Regions from separate parts of the Homo sapiens genome. Here region 1 is linked to region 2. Evidence: promoter capture Hi-C in 16 types of primary human blood cells and fetal thymus (Javierre and others, 2016). All regions are on one chromosome and are shown on one strand. The core of a region is centred on a gene start or on the middle of the fragment in contact, and the rest is flanking DNA. Distances in the headings are between cores, read along the strand shown. Region 1 overlaps HNRNPC (heterogeneous nuclear ribonucleoprotein C). Region 2 holds the start of DCAF11 (DDB1 and CUL4 associated factor 11).

What was found. The method cuts DNA at HindIII sites, captures the fragments that hold promoters and counts their contacts. A CHiCAGO score of 5 or more calls a contact.
Region 1: a contact is called between a fragment that was not itself captured here and the fragment with the promoter of DCAF11 in region 2, in 1 of 17 cell types (total CD8 T cells). The highest score is 5.4, in total CD8 T cells.

Annotation. Positions count from the first base shown.
Region 1 is chr14:21,253,259-21,259,845 of GRCh38, reverse strand. The region is part of intron 2 of HNRNPC (heterogeneous nuclear ribonucleoprotein C); the gene reads left to right. Among named protein-coding and RNA genes, the nearest start is that of HNRNPC, 13 kb to the left of the region's middle. RefSeq lists an enhancer at 4,599-5,536. The HindIII fragment of the contact is 3,616 bases long and covers 602-4,217 here.
Region 2 is chr14:24,113,381-24,119,515 of GRCh38, reverse strand. DCAF11 (DDB1 and CUL4 associated factor 11) reads right to left here and starts at 4,739. Exons shown (of 15, transcript NM_025230.5): 1 at 4,223-4,739; 2 at 3,767-4,134; 3 at 2,472-2,599; 4 at 2,123-2,250; 5 at 1,784-1,848; 6 at 1,361-1,461; 7 at 982-1,128; 8 at 712-766; 9 at 303-371. The coding sequence starts at 3,921. It overlaps NRL (neural retina leucine zipper), which reads left to right and starts at 4,567. Exons shown (of 3, transcript NM_001354768.3): 1 at 4,567-4,794. RefSeq lists enhancers at 4,660-4,809, 5,050-5,189, 4,771-5,486. The HindIII fragment of the contact is 1,852 bases long and covers 3,480-5,331 here.

The sequences.
Region 1 (6,587 bases), core at 1,160-3,659, 2.9 Mb after region 2:
TCAAAAACTCCTGGAAGATTTTAATTTTTAGGAATGTCTTTCTAATAACAGTATGGAAATGGTGTAGAGGAAATGAGATTGGAAGTAGGAGATTAATAAAGGAGATATTAAAATCCAAGAAAGAATAACGACCTGGCTTGGACAAAGGTAATGCTATGAGATTAGAGATTAGGAGGTAAAATTAGGAGCATCTCAGGATGGATGTGATAAGGTGGACAAGAACACAGATTTGGCATGATTGCTGGTTTCTAGCTTCTGGGATAGGGATAGATATTGGGGAATGAATGAAGGGAGCAGATTATAGTTTGAGGGTGGGAAAAAGAATATTTTAAACATCTTGGAGGTATTCAAGGAACATTCAAGTATAAGATGTTTTATTAAGTATCTGAGTACTATTTGAAAATCATTAGGTTTGGGCATATAGGGATGAACAAAACATGTCCCCTGCCCTCTTAGATATTATAGATCATTGAGGGAAGAAACAAAGTAAATGGCACTTTTCACAGTAAGGATCGATGAAGGAAAAGAAGAGCGTGGATGAGAAGATGGCAAGGGAACCAAAATTAGAACATGGAATTTGGGGGATGCTGCCAGGGAAGCTTAGCTACGTGGAAGTAGCTAATGGTGAAGCTCATTCTGTAAGAAAACCATATGTGAAAGCACAGATAATGAGGGGGAACAAGACTTGGCCTCCAAGTAAGAAATAATACTGGAAAATAATTACCAAGAATACATAGATGAGGGATGGAGTTAGAGAGGTAGGCAAGGACCAAACATTTCATAGCACGGGACCTTAGAGGGTCTTGTTTAAGATCCTGTCTTGGGCACAAGTAGAATCTATTGAAGGATTTTGAAGAAGAGGTCTGGTTTATCTTCTGTTGTGTAGGGAATATTAGTGATGAGAACTAAGAGGGCAAGTAGGGCAGTAAGTTTGGAGACCTATTAGAGTAGGCCACTGTCTCAATCTCTTGAAGAAAATAATCATCCCAAGCCTAACAATAACTTGCCCTGGTTTTTCAAATGAGTTTTTATTGGGTGTATTAATGAGCAAAATCAGTCTGAGTAAGATAGGTTGAGAACTGATGAGGCTCCAGGAAATTACTAATTATTTCTGATACCTTGTTGGGTCATATAATGGCTTTCTGATTTGGCAGAAAAAAGTAGCAGGACATTAATTTATGGAAGTATTCTAAACACTTGACTATGTCCAACACTGTTAAAGTTGTGAGTTTGTGTTAACTTAATCATCATCAAAACCTTGAGTAGGAGTAGATACTGTTATTCATGTTTTAGAGGTGAGAATATTGGAGTACAGAATTTAAATAACTTGCCTAAAGTTAAACTGCTTTAGTGGTTTAGCATGGATTCAACCCTGGGATTAAGGGTGCAGATTTCAACACTTAATGATAGTAGACTCCTTTCGTCACTTTGATATGTTGAACTTTTTTTTTTTTTTGAGACATAGTCTCGCTCTGTCACCAGGCTGGAGTGCAGTGGCATGATCTCTGGCTCACTGCAACCTCCGCCTCCTGGGTTCAAGCGATTCTTGTGCCTCCGCCTCCTGAGTAGCTGGGATTGCAGGCATGCACCACCACACCCAGCTAATTTTTATATTTTAGTAGAGATGGGGTTTCACCATGTTGGCCAGGCTGGTCTAGAAATCCTGACCTCGTGATCCGCCCACCTCGATTTCCCAAAGTGCTGGGATTACAGGCGTGAGCCACTGTGTCCGGCTGAGCATTCTAGAAAAACAGATTTTAGTTTGGTTAAAGTTCCAAAGAACAACTTTGGACTTTTATTATTAAAATTTTAAAACTAAATATGTTTATATTTTTGCCCTTGATTTCCCAACACCTTAAATGGCTTAAAGATGTGTATATGTGCAAGGTAGTTAATGTTTAGGTAGATGTATCTTGGTAAAATGTTACCATGGTTGTGATGGCATTGTTAATAGGGAAGCAAGCACATTTTAAAAGTGAGCTTTAGGCCAGTTGCAGCAGTTTATGCCTATAATCCCAGCACTTTGGGAGGCTGAAGTTGGAGGATAGCTTAAGGCCAGGAAAGTCTGGCAACATAGCAAGAGCCTGTCTACAAAAAGCTGGGCACGGTGGCACACAGCTGTAGTGTAGCTCCCTGGGAGGCTGAGGCGGTAGAATTAATTGAGTTCAGGAGTTTGAGGTCAGTGTGAGTTATGATTGCGCCACTGTACTCCAGCCTGGGTGACAAGAGTGAGACCCTATCTCTTAAAGTAAAAAAACAAAAGTGAGCTATCTTTTTTTTTTTTCTAAGACTTATAAAACCGAAGTGAACTTCAGTTAGAAAAAAATTATTTGTGGTTAAAAAAGAACCACGGAGACGGATGCATTAACTAAGCCCAGGGGTCCTTTTTCAATCCTCATCTCACTTGACCTGTTGGTTCCATTTAACCAGATCTCTTCCTTGAAACGTTTTTATTTTTTTTTTACTTTGCTTCCAGGTTTTTGTTACATGTTTCTGTTACATGTTAAACTTCTTTCTGTTGGAGTGCCCCATGGTTCAGTCCTTCCACTTCTCTTTTCTGTCCACACTCTGGGTCCAATTTCATTCAGATTCATTCATGATGTAATATACCACCTATAAGCTGATTTCGACACTTAAGATCAACAGCCTATACTTTTCTTTCGAATGTCATACCAATTCAGTTTACCTGCATGACAACTCTGTTGAATATCCAATATGTCAACTTAAAAGTGCAAAACTGTGCTCCTGATGTTCATGCCTCAAACCAGTCTCTTGTGTACTGTTGCCTTTTTCAGTTAATGAAACAATTTTTGTGTCTCTTGGGCCAAAGATTTTGGCTAGCCATCCTTGACTTTTACTCTTCTCACCTTTGGCCTATTAGAAAATCATGTTGGCCAGGTGTGGTAGCTCAGGCCTGTAATCCCAGCACTTTGGGAGGCTGAGGGAGGCGCATCGCTTGAGCTCAGGGGTTTGAGACCGGCCTGGGCAACATGGTGAAACCCTGTCTCTTCAAAAATATACAAAAATTAGCCAGGAGTGGTGGCAAGTGTCTGTAGTCCCAGCTACTTGAGAGACAGGCATGAGAATCGCTTGAGCCCAGGAAGCAGAGGTTGCAGTGAGCCGAGATCGCACCCGCACCATTGCACTCCAGCCTGGGTGACAGAGCAAGACCCTATCACAAAAAAAAGAAAGGAAAAAATGCTGTCAGCTCTTCAAAATATACCACTACTCATACTGTCGACACTTGGTCCAATTTCAAGCCACCCTTGTCTCCTGTGCATTATTATATATAATAGGTTTGTATTTCTTTTGTCCCTCCCCACTAGTTTTGTTCTTAAAAGTGATAGCTAGATTGATCCTAAAATGTATTGTTTGAAGGATTTTTTTTTTGGGGGGGAGATGGAGTTTTGCTCTCTTTGCCCAGGCTGTAGTGCAGTGGTGCGAGCTCGGCTCACCGCAACCTCTGCCTCCCGGGTTCAAGCAGTTCTCCTGCCTCAGCCTTCCAAGTAGCTGGGATTACAGGCACCAGCCACCAAGCCCAGCTAATTTGTTTTTTATTTTTAGTAGAGACAGGGTTGCACCATGTTGGCCAGGATAGTCTCGATTTCTTGACCTTGTGATCTGCCCGTCTCTGCCTCCCCAAAGTGCTGGGATTACAGGCGTGATCCACCACGCCTGGCCATTGAAAAATGTTTTGCCTGAAAACAAACAACCTAATGGCTGCCTTTTTCAGCATTGAAGTCAAAAATTTTTCTGTGATTTACAGGGCATCCCACGTGATTTGTTGTGTCCCTTCCCTTGCTGTTAATATACTGTGCTTCAGCCACACTGGCCTTCTTAACTGTATTGAACACATTGGATATGTTTCCACTTTAGGGCTTTTCCTTGGAATTTTCTCTGACTCATACAGTTTGGTTCCTCAGTTCCTCTGAGACTTTTTACTCAGAAGCTACCCCCTTAGTGATGTGTCTTCCCTTATTTAGCGCTTTAAGCTCCCCTTCTCCTAAATACTCTTTAGCACTTATCACCAACTGTAGAATTTGTTTTTTTCTATGTAAAGACATAAGAGATATGTCCAGAAATACATATGCCAAACAATTAACATTGATTGCCTCTGGGCAAGAAGTGGGATTTAGGAGATTTGAAACTTGTGTACTATGTGCTTAAGACTATTATAATGATCAATGTGGTAGTATTTTCCTTCTAATTAAAAAGCTTAAAAATGTACATCAACTCTTGTGATTCTGTGTGGGCATAAATAGCATAGCTAGTCTGTGTAATAGGGGTTTAGTAAGCAGTGTTAATAGTTGAAGAAACTGCTTTAAAAGGTTTAGCTGTGATAGAGTCGAGTTAGCATTTGAGCACATAGACTACCGTGTTGCCTGTATCAACATTTGGGAGAGCTTGACCATTTTAAAAATATGTATTCTCTACTGAGAAAGCATGGCTATTTGTAAGAGGTAGAGTGAATTAGAGAACTTTTTTTTTATTATTTCTACCTAATCTGATTCTGACTTTACCAGTCTGAAATATTCTTCCTGTTTTCTAATTATATTGACCTATGGCTCCTGAGTTGATTTTAAAACTGAAAAAACTCCAGGAGTTCATTGAACCAGATTTAGGCTTTTCTGGCTAGTCTTGAATAACATTTAGGAGTTTAGTAGAGTACATTTTGAACAAAAATTTTCCTCCAGTCCTCTAACTAAAATAGGTATTCTGAAGAGGATAAACTATTCATAATGCATTGTCACTCCCTATATTGATCCTTTAAATAAAATCTTCACATAAGTGGGTTTTCTAGCTTCAGAGCGAGAAGAAAAGTTTTCTCATGCTATTACCCTTAAGTTTGTGGAATTCATGCTAGAGTTATGGCTATGCTGTTTAAAATGGAGTTTTTCTGGTTTTTTTTTTTGTTTTTTTTTTGAGACTAGAGTCTCGCTCTGTTGCCCAGGCTGGAGTGCAATGGCACGATCTTGGCTCACCGCAACCTCCGCCTACCGCAACCTCCGCCTCCCGGATTCAAGTGATTCTCCTGCCTCAGCTTCCCGAGTAGCTGGGATTACAGGCGCCTGCCACCACGCCTGGCTAATTTTTGTATTTTTACAAGAGACAGGGTTTCACCATGCTGGCCAGGCTGGTCTCGAACTCGCGACCTCAGGCAATCCGCCCATCTCGGCCTCCCAAAGTGCTGGGATTACAGGCGTGAGCCACCGCAGCTTGCTAAAATGGAGTTTTATTACTCCTTTGAAAAGGAATACTAGTCAAGTGACTGAAGATTGATGTGGATTTGGGAGAGGAGGTACCTCATCTTTATCTTACCTTTGATCCGAATAAAGTAATACATGCTCATAGAACATTTTTAGAAAATACAGCTATCCAAAGATAACATTTGGGGTGTTCTTCCAGGCTTTTTGGGGCTTATATAAACTTCAAAAAGCACTGTCATACAGCATATATATTTAAGTAATAATTTTAAATTTAACCTGAATAGCTTATGTTAGTAGATACAGATCTCTGAAAAATTTGTAGTAGTTACATAGTATTATATACTCTATAATACTACATGGTACATTGTATACTTGTACTATATTTTATTTTACCAATACACTGTTGTACTCGTCCCCATTTTTTCTTTTGTAAACAAAGCTTTGGACAGTCAAAACTACAGTTGTGCATATCTTTATTTTCTTACATTTAAGCCCCAGAAATATAATTATTCAAGGGTATGCACATCTTTTTTGCCGGGGAGGTGGGCAGAGTATGCACTTTTTTTTTTTTTTTTTTTGAGACGGAATCTCACTCTAGCCCAGGCTGGAGTGCAGTGGCATGGTCTCACTGCAAGCTCCCTCTCCCGGGTTCATGCCATTCTCCTGCCTCAGCCTCCTGAGTAGCTGGGACTATAGGTGCGTGCCAACACACCCAGCTAATTTTTTAATTTTTTTTTGGTAGAGACGGGGATTCACCGTGTTAGCCAGGATGGTGTCGATTTGCTGACCTCGTGATCTGCCCGCCTTAGCCTCCCAAAGTGCTGGGATTACAGGCCTGAGCCACCGCGCCTGGCCGCACATTTTAAAAAGTTCTTAAGTTTGTTCTCCAGAAGCTAATAAGTTTAGCAATTTATTGGCAGTGTTAGCGGCCACTAATACTTAATTTCTAGTTTTGTGAATTACTTTGGATCTTTTGCTTTAAGATTTGACCCTGTATTATTCTGAAGGATTTGCTAAGTTTTTAAGTTGAATAGTAAAAATGTTGATAGATTTTGAGTGAAACATTGATACAATGTTGTCTATATTTCTGTGTATAGTTTGAGATTCACATGTAATTTTTGTTTTCAGGTGCATGCACATCTTTGGTGCTATCTTTTTTTTTTTTTTTTTTTTTTTTGAGATGGAGTCTAGAGGTTGGAGTGCAGTGGCGTGATCTCTCTCACTGCAAGCTCCGCCTCCTGGGTTCACGCCATTCTACTGCCTCAGCCTCTGGAGTAGCTGGGACTACAGGCATCCAGCTAATTTTTTGTATTTTTTTTTTTTTTTAGTAGAGATGGGGTTTCACCATATTGGCCATAATGGTCTTGATCTCCTGACTTC
Region 2 (6,135 bases), core at 3,490-5,989:
GAGGACCAACGTGGTATATGCTCTAGAGAGTTCCACTGAGAAATCCTGCTCTGGGTCAAGCCCTTTGCTCTTTTTATACAGGAAGTGGGGGAAGAGTTAGCTGTGTTTCAAGGAGGCTTGACACCTCCAATCTCGTGCTGGGGAAATGGAGAGCAAGGGGTGAAGCAACTTGTAAATCCTGACCTTGGGAGAAGGTCTGGTTGTTCTCTGCAGCTGCCAGTGCCATCTGTGTAACAGCAGAACTCATCTCTGGCAGAACCCCCATCTTGTTATTGAGGGAAACATACCCCACAAGCACTTACCCTCCTAGTACTTCTCGTCCATCTGAGGAGACAGCAATGGAGAAGACAGCAAAGCGACGCTCATCTGGCCTAAAAGCAAGAAGGAGCTGGGTTAAGTGGACTTCCTTCAGCTTTTGTTAATCTACATAAAATCTGACAACGGTTGTAAGGCACATCCCCAGGGGAAAAAAGAAGTCTGGCTAACATGCACCATAATGCAGATGCTCAGTGAGAACCCAGAAATCATCCTGCAACCATCTATTTTACCCAGTCCTCTGGCTGACAAGATGGTGCTTCCCTCCCAGGAATGCACACAGACCCACCAGTATACTTTTTCCCCTAAACAGAACTTCCAACTCAAGAGGTTTGCTCCCAAAGAGCTTCCCTTGAGAAGTTTCTGATGAGTCTGACCAGAAAGGGAAGCCAGTACCTGAGATCCAGGGCAGTGTGTGTATCTCCCTCACCATAGATATTGCAGATATGAACTAAGAGAAGCAAGAAAAACAAGAATCTTTCAGGGATGGGGGAAGAAGAGTGGAAGTGAAGCTAGGGAAGAGATCAAACAGGGGACAAGGGTACTGGAGCACTTTGGGAGTGATTTTCCCAGGACAAAGTGAGGGATCCTGGCTCAGAGGGGACAGGCACATGGAAACCTCAGGTCCCAGGCTGGAGAGTCAGTGGAAGCCTGGTGCATACTCACTGTAATCAGACCAGCTAGAGTAGAGGAAGTGGTTCCCATCAGGGGTGAAGGCCACATCCAAGACGCTCCAGCCTACGTCGCGGGCCTTGATGCTCTTGAATTTACGGAAACGGCCATATCGGCAGTCATAGAGTCGGATTGTCTGGTCTGTGTAAGTAAAGATCAGGCAGAATTATGGGACAGTTTCCTTGTAACTTTTCTAGATTAGACATCTCCCACTCAGTGTACCTGTGGAGTCTTCCCTTTATCATGGGAAACATGGTCTGGCTAAGCATCCTTAAGCCAGGTCTGAGCTCCCCGTCTGTGGCTTTCTAGCCTCAGTCAGGGGGAATGTCCCATGTTCCAGGAAAAGATAGTTTATAGGACCAGGGTCTGGTACCTTGGCAAGCAGACATGAATATTTGACCATCTTTGCTGTAGATGCCACAGAAAGCCTTCTGAGAGTAGCTATCAGTGAAGCCCAGATCATTGGGCAAGAAGCTAGGGAAGGAGAGAGAAAGTGAGGGTGAGGGGTGCTCAGGATAAGGAGTGTCCCAATCAGCAGAATCCTAACAGAGCTGGAATATCAGAACAGTCATTCTTCCCTTTTGGCTGTGAGTGCAATCCCGTCTTTCAACCATTCCACCATCCTCTAAATTTCTACAATTTTCTACACTTTTCTACTTTGTTTACTCTCAAAGTTTCAACCCCATTTAACCTAACCTTTAATATCTCTGAGGCTCCTTTAACACCTACCCCTTCAAAGTTTAGGAGATAAGACCTATCTGGCCCTTAGAGTCTCTTCACCAAGCCCCATACTCACTGAGATATCACTCGAGACTGTTCTCCAAGGGAGAAGCTTCCCCGATGGCAGAGGCCCCGTTCTCTCTAAATGGAAGGGATTGGGGAATATTGCTAGCAGAAATAGAGGGCCACTTCAGCCATATCAAGCCCCCTCCTCCAAAGATATTGCTCTTGTTATAGAAATGGACACACACATCATAGTCTGTCCCACAGAACTCCGATGGAGGCTGGTTAACTCTCCAGCCCCAGCGCTTGAGGCTTCTACTTTGGAAAGTTGACTTCCTTTTTCTCTGGGGCTGGCAGAGCTTCTGGCTGCTTTGGCAGGCCTGCTGCCAGGCTGGGAGGTGGAGAGGCCTACCTGGTGCAACATTCGAGGAAAGCTGTGCTTCTGGGCGGCCCGCCTAAGCCCCAGCTGCCCTGTGGCCAGTTCCACTTGTGTCTTGATCTCATTGAATTCCAGCTCCCGGGTGTCAGGGGTAGCATCCACTGTGAGTACCAAGGAGAAGTTTCATCCTAGGTCTGCCAGCCTCAGAGGACAGTTAGCAGAACTGTACCCAAGCCCACCCCTGTGGCTGAATATACTGGGGCTGTAAGGACTCCTTATTCCTTAAATTATCGTACCTTCTTTCAATGTAACCTATCATTCAAAATATCACTAAAAGGTTTTCTAGTAAAAGTCTTCCAACATTAGGGGCTTTTCCTCTTACCAGGTGGGTTGTATCGATCCCCAAGACGACCATCCCAAGCTCTGTCATTCTCTTCCTCTGAGTCCAAGAGGGCCTGAATGAATTGTAAATTTGCTGCACCTCCTCCCTGCACCAACCTCACTTGGCCTCTGTGGAGAGACCCCCATTATAAAGGAGGGGACTTCTTCCCCCAAACCAACCAAATTCAGAGTCAATGGCTATCTAGCTCTTAGACCACTTGGTACTCATTTTGAGGTTTGAGGCTGACTAGACCTTGGCTGTTATTTTTGGTCTCCTATAAAACACAGTAGGAAAGAGAGTTTTACTCTTACAGCAAGAGCAAGACCAACATGCTGTGGACGTGACCTACTAAGTTGACCTCCCAGCGAGCTAAACATTCTAACATCATTTCCTTAGAACAAGAGCAAGACCAATACGCTGTGGACATGACCTACTAAGTTGACCTCCCAACAAGCTAAACATCCTCACAGCATTTCCTTCTGAGCCTCTGCCTGAGAAGTCCACCACAGAAGACAATATTCTAAGCTGGGTGCGGTGGTGTGTGCAACTGTAGTCTTAGCTACCTGGGAGGCAAGGATTGCTTGAGCCCAGGAGTTGCAGGCTGTGGTGTGCACTTGATCACACCTGTGAATAGCCCGTTCTCCAGACTGGGGAACACAGTGAGCCCTGTCTATGTCTACTAAAAACAACACAAAACACAAACAAAAAAGAATACAATATTCTGAAGGGACCCCCAAACCCATCTTCTCCTCAAAGAGCCATAAGCAAAGAAAGAAAGCCAGCTGCACCCTTTTCCAGTCAATTCCAGGTGGTCTCTCCCTTCAAGGCATTCTTTCCTCAAGAACAGGTTAGAGTCAGGGCAAATTAAACTTGTTTTTCAAGTAAATCGAAGTGGCCTCATATCATGTGTCAACTGCCTTACTAAAAAGTTCAACACTCCCTTCCCATCTCTTCACCCCTTACATCACTCCTTTCCCACTAGGACCCCCCCCTTTTTTTTTTCAAGCTTACTTGGAAAATAGACTATATTTGTGTAGTCACAGAGACAGGCTCCCTTGAATAGCCCCTCAAACACATGAGCAGGTCCTCTTGGTGACCCTCCCTAGGTAAGAACCACTCTTACTGGGTATGGAGCTGAGTGCCATGGGTGCCCAGCAGGGAAAGGCTGTTCAGCTCAAACAGAACAGCTGTCCTGAGCGAATCCCATTTCCTAACCTCTGTAATTTTCCTGCCTGGAGTTGGGATCAAGGCACTGTGGTAGCACCTGCTGGGGGTCACACCAGAGGGTAAGTTACCTGCGGAGGAGATAGGCCAGTACCTGGGCCAGATCCACATCTTCATCCTCTTCTTCCTCTTCCTCACTCCGACGCAGGCCAGCCCCTCTTCGGGGCAAGCCCTCGGAGGGGTCTCCGGACCCGGATCCTGCACTGCTGCTGTTCCGCGATCCCATCTTCTGGTCACAGCATTCTTAGGTCCTGTGCGGGGGCTCCTCCTGTCACCTCCTTGGGTTTGGTGAAAGCAAAGCGTGCTCTAGAAATACCAGGGTCTCCTGAGACGGGGTAGTAGCTATCTCTAGGAGGGTGACCCTTCCTCGGGGCTGAGATCCCTTTTCTTTAGCCTATGCCAACTACCAAGGCGTCGGGAACACAAACCTTCTCCAATCCTGTGAAGCAAAGAAAGCAAGAGTGAACCGTAGTGCGCTACCCTAGCTCACCAACTGAAGAAAGATTTGTTTTCTACACCAAACTCACCTATCGAAGTCCCCGGACTGGGGAGCGGGAGGGGTGTTGGGCGGTGTTGGATTTCCAGGTAACCTCTCTGACCGACCAATCGAAATCCCTCTCGGAAGAAAGCGCTTCACTAGCTTATCTCATCTAACCAATTAGAAGCCTTAGGACTCAAAGACCCTCGACGCCCCCACCTTATCGACCAATCAGAGCGCCCCCTTACAAAGGCCGGCAGCAGTGACAGCCAATGAAAATAGAATTTGGCCTAACACCCCTCCTTCCTCGCCTCACGCCCACGTGGTGCGCCGGGGGTGTGTACGCCATGAGGGGGAGGAAGCCGAGAAGCACCTCCCACTGAAGCCGGCGGTAACCGCCCCACGCGAGACCACCCACCAGCCAGGAGCGGTCGCAGGACCCGCAGCGGCGCGAGGCCTTGTTTACACCGACTGCCGCCACTGCGTTGGCCAACCGCTCCTCCGTCACGCGCTTCGCTCGTCACGCATCTCGCGGCTTCCTGGCCGGCGGGCTGCAAACGTCACACGACGGCCCCGCCCCCTTGGCCAGCCAACTGGACAGCGGAGCACGATGATTGATAGGTAGGCGGGAGAATGCGCGAGGTGCCTGAGGGGAGGAGAAAGTGCACACCCAAGGAGGGCTGTTAGCTCTTGCTGGGGAGGAGTAAGTGGGAACTGCCAGCTTCCTGAATCAGAGACAGCCGAACTAGGCGTAACGGCTGAGAGGCGGGGCTTAAAAAAGAAACGTTTGGTGGTTCGCTACCGAGAGGTATTTTAGCAAGGGATATAATTTACTGTCTGTCCCTAAAGATCATTTGGCATCGCACTTTTCAGACAGTGCCCAAGGGCCTCCTTTCTCCCCACTGCTTCCCCTGTCCAGCTGGAGCCGTTCTTCTGTCGCTGGCCGCAGCTCCAGTCGGTTCTGCCCTAAGGGGTGCCCAGCGTCCCAGTAGACCTCCATACCGTCCTTCCGGGCTTAGCTTTTGGAAGCCTTGCTCTTGGGACGGTCCCCTTTTAGACCTCCCTTTATCCGGTCTGACAATTTTTTAAGACAATCCCTGGCTTTCCGCCGCGGTCTTTGCAGACGTTCCCTAATACACGCGTCTTTCTGTCAAAGCTTTTCCGGTTCCGCTGTCCCCTTTGACGCTCCCTTGGCCCTCCGGGATTTGCAGACCTTCGCTAGTCCCTCTGTCCTCGCGGTGCCTCTCCGCCCCCGGCCGCGGGTCCAGGGTGCGCGCTCGCCGCCTCCTGCCCCCTCCTGCCCCCTCCTGCGGGTTTATGAGTAACAAGCCTGAGTCCAAGGCCGGGAGTTGCCACATCTCTGATCCTCGCCCTGGCTGGGTGGGGACGTGTGGGTTGAATGACCTTGCTGTCTCGGGCTCAGAGGCTCAGGGTCCGAGCTGAACTTCATTCCCTGCAGCCTGCACTTCCTTGGGAAAGCTGCGAGCTTCCCTCCGCCCGCTCCTGAGGGCAGGGATGGGAGCGAGGGCTCGTGGCCTTCTTGGGCCCTCCTGGGGCCTCTCCCAGTGAGGGCGAGGGTTTGGCCAGCTTTCGGGCGACGTCTCCTAGTCTCTAGATCCGGAGACCTGAGCTTGTCACCAGGGCTAGCTTTGATGGCCTCTGCGCTTAGAAGGGTCCTGAATGTTTGGTTTAATGTTCTAGTGTTAACGGTCTTGAAATTATTAGTAATTTTAAAGCAAGTGCCTGGTATTTTCATCTTGCACTCGGCTCCACTGATTATGTAGGCGGTCTGCTGGGCGCCCATCCTCTATTGCCAGATTACTTACTATCTGTGCTTTAACGTTTATTGAGACTTTAGGATTCCGTGGTTTCTGGGTTATCCAGCCTGGAAAATCGGGATCTTTATTTATTGATTGATTTTACCTGCGTTCTCCCAGAATGTGACGGAATCATTTTTTTTTT